2 separate regions of the Homo sapiens genome follow, and region 2 is linked to region 1. The links are contacts of gene promoters, found by promoter capture Hi-C in blood cells and fetal thymus (Javierre and others, 2016). All regions are on one chromosome and are shown on one strand. The core of a region is centred on a gene start or on the middle of the fragment in contact, and the rest is flanking DNA. Distances in the headings are between cores, read along the strand shown.

The links. The method cuts DNA at HindIII sites, captures the fragments that hold promoters and counts their contacts. A CHiCAGO score of 5 or more calls a contact.
Region 2: a contact is called between a fragment that was not itself captured here and the fragment with the promoter of GOLPH3 in region 1, in 1 of 17 cell types (fetal thymus). The highest score is 7.3, in fetal thymus.

The regions. Positions count from the first base shown.
Region 1 is chr5:32,172,819-32,176,261 of GRCh38, reverse strand. GOLPH3 (golgi phosphoprotein 3) reads left to right here and starts at 1,943. Exons shown (of 4, transcript NM_022130.4): 1 at 1,943-2,452. The coding sequence starts at 2,228. RefSeq lists a silencer at 2,050-2,659. The HindIII fragment of the contact is 5,568 bases long and covers 1-2,936 here.
Region 2 is chr5:39,070,036-39,073,478 of GRCh38, reverse strand. All of the region lies in intron 2 of RICTOR (RPTOR independent companion of MTOR complex 2), which reads left to right. Among named protein-coding and RNA genes, the nearest start is that of RICTOR, 2.6 kb to the left of the region's middle. RefSeq lists an enhancer at 1-247. The HindIII fragment of the contact is 1,588 bases long and covers 777-2,364 here.

The DNA.
Region 1 (3,443 bases), core at 694-3,193:
TGCCTCAGCCTCCCGAGTAGCTGGGACTACAGGGGCCCGCCACCACGCCCGGCTAATTTTTTGTATTTTTAGTAGAGACGGGGTTTCACCGTGTTAGCCAGGATGGTCTCGATCTCCTGACCTCCTGATCCGTCCGCCTTGGCCTTCCAAAGTGCTAGGATTACAGGCGTGAGCCAACGCGCCCAGCCAATTTTTTTTTTTTTTTTTTGAGACAGGGTCTTGCTCTGTCTCTCAGGCTGGTGTGCAGTGGCACGATCACCCTCATGGCAGCCTCAAATTCTGGGCTCAAGCGGTTCTCCTGCCTCAGCCTCCCGAAGACCTGGGACTACAGATGTGGGCCACTACTCCTGATTAACTTTTTTCACATAATAAATTAATTACATTTATTTTACAAAGAAATATTTCAAGCTACAACATTTGGTAAAATCAGAAAAGATGAAGAAAAAAGGTCCAAAGAGGGTGTGGGCTGGCGCGGTGGCTCACGCCTGTAATCCCAGCACTTTGGGAGGCCAAGGCCGGCGGATCACGAGGTCAGGTGATCGAGACCATCCTGGCTAACACGGTGAAACCCCGTCTCCACTAAAAATACAAAAAATTAGCCAGGCGTGGTGGCGGGCGCCTGTAGTCCAGCTACTCAGGAGGCTGAGGCAGGAGAATGGCGTGAACCCGGGAGGCAGAGCTTGCAGTGAGCCGAGATTGTGCCACTGCACCCCAGCCTGGGCAACAGAGCAAGACTCCGTCTCAAAAAAAAAAAAAAAAAAAAAAAAAAGAGGGTGTGAATGGGAGAAATTGGTTGAGGTGAAATCGACCTTCACCAAGACAGGTGGGAAAAAGGGAAGGTCTACTTGGTGTGCCCCCTGGACCCTCTCTTCCCTTCATTTAGCACTGTCACTTTCCAGGGCATGGGATGGTAGGCAGCAGCAGTTCTGGATAATGGATTTGTGGAAGAGAAGAATCCATCTAAAGCACTCTTTAGCCACAGCCCATGATCACTTTTTTTAAAAAATTTTTATTTTTTGCTTTGCTGTTGTTCCACTCTGTCCATACATTGTTTAATACAGGATGGCACACAATACCATTCCTGGTTAAATGTTTCACTTAACAAGCGCCACCCTCTACTCCTCCAACTCCTGTCTCAGGTTTGACAGCTATTTTTTTAACCTAATTTGCGCACGCCAAGAGGATTTCACCTAGTAACTACACGGAGAGACATCCGATGCGTACAAAGACGTGGCATGAAACGCTGCAGGTTTATTGTCTCTATAAAAAGATCGTTAAGGTCGAGCGTGCTAACGTGTGCGGTACTAACTGTACTCACTACGCCCTGGTCACTTTATAGCACAAGTCCGAGGCAAGGAAAGAAGTTTTACAAACAAAACTGGTCAACTGTTCTATCTTCTTACTCCTGGAAAACAATAAAGGTCCACTTTCAAACCATTTGGACGCACTTGCTCCTTCTAAAGGGTTAGGGAGTCCCGGCAGATAGCGTACCCCTCCCCGCCCAGCAGCAGAGAGCAAAGTCCTTCCTGCCGATCCTGCAGACCCCGGAGTCCAAATGGGACCCCGTCCACACGACCGCGGAGTCGCCTCCGAAGACGGCGGTGTCTGGGGCGTGGAGGGCACGGCTGGAGGCTGAGTGGGGTCCACCTTCGCGTGGCCCAGGCTCTTCCATTCACGGGGGGCCCCGCCAGGTTCAGGCTCCAGCCCTGGGTAGTGAAGGGGAAACGGGGAACGGAAGGAGGGAGGGCACGTCACGGGAGCAGGACTGCAGGACCGCGGGTCAGGGGGCGCAGGAACGCCAAAGAAAAGACAAGCACCGAGGGCCGGGAAGGGTGTAGGCTGCAGTGGCAGCGGATCCCCGGCCGCCGCTTCCGGCGCCTCCCGGCCCAGCTCTCCCGCGCCGACTCTGCCACATCCTCCGGTGACGTCAGCCGGGGCCGCCATATTGGAAAGGCGCCGCCGCCGCCTCCGCCTTGGAGCTCGGGGTGTTTCGGGGACTGCGGCCACAGGCAGGAAGGCGCTCCTCTCCTGCCCCGCCGACGCCCGGCCAGCCCGCTTCGCCCTGACCTGTTTCCTCATGACTGCCCCCGGCCCTGCTGCCGACGGACGTCGCCCCGGCGTCCGGATTTAACACGGAAACCCGGATCGGAGGCCGCGCGGGGAGGAGGAGGGCGACCCGGTCGGTCCTGCGACCCTCTCGGCCCGGCTCGGCGCCTCGGCGGGAGCCATGACCTCGCTGACCCAGCGCAGCTCCGGCCTGGTGCAGCGGCGCACCGAGGCCTCCCGCAACGCCGCCGACAAGGAGCGGGCGGCGGGCGGCGGCGCCGGCAGCAGCGAGGACGACGCGCAGAGCCGCCGCGACGAGCAGGACGACGACGACAAGGGCGACTCCAAGGAAACGCGGCTGACCCTGATGGAGGAAGTGCTCCTGCTGGGCCTCAAGGACCGCGAGGTGCGGGCGCGGCGGGCTGGGCGGGGGGCGGCGGCGCGGGGCCCGGGCGCCAGGTGAGCTCCAGGTAGGTGCCAGGTGAGCGCCCGAGGCTTCCGGCCCGCGCACCTGCCCTCGCTCCGAAGTCCGCGCCTGGTGGCGCCCAGCTGACGCCGAGCGGTGTCGGAGTTGGTTGACCCCCTGGCGCGGCTGGTGCTTTCTGGATCCTCCCCGTAGAGATGGCTTGGATTTTTCCTTACCCCTTTCACAGTCGCTCCTTTCATTTCGACACCCTGGCAGTTTGTATTTCTTCGTCGCCTTTTTTCCGCGTTTTTAACCCGTGTAGACCCCAGGGTGCAAATCCAACCCGGAGACTGCCCGGGAAACTAACAGCTGGAGCCACCAGCGCCACGAACTCTTTGGGTTTTTGCAGGCTTTAGGACCTGGGAGGGGTGCCCGGATCTGCTTGCTGGGGATGTTTTTTTTTTCTTCTTCTTCAGTTAAAGCTTACTGTTGGGAATTACGAAAAACGTAGGCGAAGTGGTAATAGAGGGAAAAGCTCTTTTACTGAGTAAAGTTAAGTTAAGTTTCTCATGAAACCTCCTGGTAAATGACTTTCTAGGTGAACTTACATTAGGTGAGAGATTATTTTTAGTATCGCTTTTATATTTTATCAGTTGATGAATCTCAAAGTCTTGCCGTCTTAAGAAAGGGCTTTTTCATCGAGTGCTTGAAATGTAGGTTTGTGAGTTGATCAGAGGCCTCAAAGCTTCAGGTGGGTTGAAGTTGCAATAGATAATTCTTTGTATTCTGACTTTGAAAGCGTTTATTTTCACTTCAGTGTCCAAAATTTTCACACACAGAAAAGTTGAAAAAGTGATAGATACATATGCATATATACTCTTTCTAGATTCTATGACGTTTTGCTGTATTTGTTATATTTGCCTACAAAAATGATTATTTATTTATGTGGAGACGGAGTTTCGCTCTTGTTGCCCAGGCTGGAGTGCAATGC
Region 2 (3,443 bases), core at 321-2,820, 6.9 Mb before region 1:
GCCCCCTCACCCTGCTGCAGGTTCATTGTTTACCTTCTGCAGTGGAGATGGGTTTGTTTACACCTTCCGAACTGGGGAAACTCGGGTGATATTTTTAATGACCTAATCCCGTTACTAGCCAGTGTTTCCTCTATCACTTACAGTACTAGAGTTTATTCGACATTATCTCGTTGAAGATTTAGTAGTTACGTACAAGATTCTTTTCTCTTCCACGGTAAACAGGATTGAGCCTACTGATTCCGACGAAGTCATATTTCACACGGGCTGTAGCTTGGAGTGTAACCCGGTTCAGCTGTACAGAATCAGTTTCTGAGGTCTATAAAACACCTTAGGAAGTAAACAAAAAAACTTGTTGTAGACATTCTGTATGAGATCAGTTTTTTACCCTATGTCGTACCTGACGTAATGACTGTTATCTACAGTAATTTGTTAAAGCTGGGCTCCTTGTTGACAACGGCTAGAGTGAAAGCATAGTGCATTTTCTAATTTGTTTTATTTTGCTTATCACGATGTAAGATTACTGTTTTATAAACTGAATGGTCAGCTTTCACTTAGCTACAAGAGTACATTTTTATAACTTAATATTTTATTCTGAAAGTTCAGGGACTTAGTTTTGGGTGAACTAGGTCCTTTTACAAGACAGTTTCTAAAATATAATACAATATAGTAGAGCTTAAATCCTGAAAATGGCTACTAATTAGATTATCAATGCACTAATTTCCACCATTTTTTTCAGCAGATCGGTTTTGAGAATTAGTATAGAAAGATGTAAAGCTTTTGACTTCTGTGCAACTGTTTGGAAACTTGACTATAACACACATGTGAAAAATCTATATAAAATAGATTCACTAGAAAACTTCCTAACAAGGATAACTTCTACAATTTCAGGTCTGTAAAAGATGTAATTAGTGAGTGATTTAATTTATATACAGGCATATGTGTTTTAGATGAAGGTGAAGGGAGCCCTTAATAAACTTGAGTTTAACTTGTGCATTAAAAACCTGCTCAGATGTGGTGCTGGAAATATATAGTTGTATTTTAAATTGAGTTCGTCGAGCTCCTATATATAGTGGTTTCTCTGCTTGGTGTCAAAAATGTTGAGTTGTGGAAGAGCTTAGGTACACATCTGATTTGATAATTTTGGCTTACTCCAGTTTTACTGAGGCACACAGGTAACTGTTTACTATTTAAAATGCCATATTAACTGAGAATTTAGTAAGCACCTATGTCCATAGGTATTTCCAGGTTAATATAGATAGTGCAGAAAATGCTGTTTTCGGCTTGCCCTGACAAAATGTACTTCAGTTTGGAATAAAGTATACACAGCCATTTAAAACTGATTGCAAAAATAAAGAGTGAGGGATTGTTTGAGATCTGTATTTCTAAATCATAAGGAAGTTTGGAATTAATCTGAATCAGTCATTTTATAGTGATACTATTGTTTTAAAAAGTTGCTGTTGTGACAGACATTTCATTGTTCAAAGAAGGCTTGAAGAAAATTCATGAGGAATTAAAGTTTAGTAATAATTTGAGAACTGTGAGGCAGTTTGGGTTGCAGCTGAAGGGCAGCTGTTTGTGGATTAGATTACAGTATGTAAAAAGATAAAGTTTGGGCAACCAAAAATTTTTTTGTTTAATGCCAAGGCAGTGTTTGCTTTTATTCTTATTTTTTAAATTTAATCTTTGAGAGATTCATTGTGTAGTTACCTAATAAAGCTCATTATAAAATAGAGGACATGGTCATTGTAATCCCTAAAGGATCCATCAATGTGTAGTGAAAAGAGAGTTGACTATAAAGTCAAATCATTCTGGATTGTAACCTCAGCTGTGAGATTTAATAGTTGGGTGATTTGGGGCAAGTTATTTGACCTTGCTTTACCCCTGATTTCTTCATTTCTAAAATAAGAGATAACTTCAAAGGGTTAAGAATGTGAAAAGTAAATGAGCTAGTTCTTAATTAAAGTACTTGGCATAAGACCGGATACTTTGTAAGTGATATTTAACATTAGTTGCCTTCCTACATTGTGAAATCACAGTTTTAAAACTCACATTAAAAATACTTTAAACGGTTGTTTTGAATATTATAAACTTGTTAATAAGGAATTATGGTATTCGAGCTTCTTTTTTTTTTGAAACATACTGTTATACTAATTGGGTATAGTCTATCTGAGTTAGAGTTCTTGAATATAACAATTGTAAAGCAATCTGTGACATTACCAATAAATTAAGTCTAAGCGAAGTGCAGTATGTTATATTCACTTAGGATAAAATGTGATACTGTATTTCATAGAACCTTAGAATTTTTGTCTCTGACACCAGGACATTTCATACTATTTAATAATGACTTGGCTAGCCTTGCAAGCTTCTTGAGGCTCAGAAGAATTCTAAGTTTCGTTGGTTTTGGTACTTGTGTTAGTGCTGTGGTTCATACATAGAGTGCCTCAGTTAAAAATTGTTGATGGATTAATTTTTATCTAGTTTAGGAACTTCATTATAGTAGACTTTACAGTCAGCGTATTGGTAATGGTTGCTCTGAGTTTTGTTCAGACAACTACTTAATTTGTGAAAGTCCCCAATATTTGCTAATGATATTATTAAATACTGTCTGTAATGCATGCCAAAATGTATTTTGAAGCCCAAATGCTTCCTCTCGCCATTTGTACTGCAAGGATAGACTGTCTTATCAGTCCAGTAGTGCATCTCTTTACTGGTACTGAATCACTTGAAAAGATACAGTGTTCTTCCTGGGTAAACCCCTCCTGGTATACTTTAATTATTGTGTTCAAAGTGAATTCCCAGAATATGGACACACTAGTTCAAATATAATTATTAGAATATAATTTATTTAAAAGTATAGTTGAATTTTATAATTTTTGATTAACTCCTTTACGTTTCCACTAAGAACTAAAAAACTGACTCTCTTGGTTGCTGTCTAATACCTAGAAAAGCAGAAAGGTTCCAAAATGATGTAGATTTGAACTCTAACTTTTTTTTTTTTTATTTGAGACGGAGTCTCGCTCTGTCGCCCAGGCCGGACTGCGGACTGCAGTGGCGCAATCTCGGCTCACTGCAAGCTCCGCTTCCCGGGTTCACGCCATTCTCCTGCCTCAGCCTCCCGAGTAGCTGGGACTACAGGCGCCCGCCACCGCGCCCGGCTAATTTTTTGTATTTTTTTTTAGTAGAGACGGGGTTTCACCTTGTTAGCCAGGATGGTCTCGATCTCCTGACCTCATGATCCACCCGCCTCGGCCTCCCAAAGTGCTGGGATTACAGGCGTGAGCCACCGCACCCGGCCCTGAACTCTAACTTTTTATTTTCCAGTTTCTTCTGGTTAGGAGTTTTCTCATTTGTTTAATCATTCAGTTAGACAAAATGGACATTGACTGAACATTTATATACCAGATGCTGAATTAACTGCTGGAAGAATAAAAATGAGGAAACTC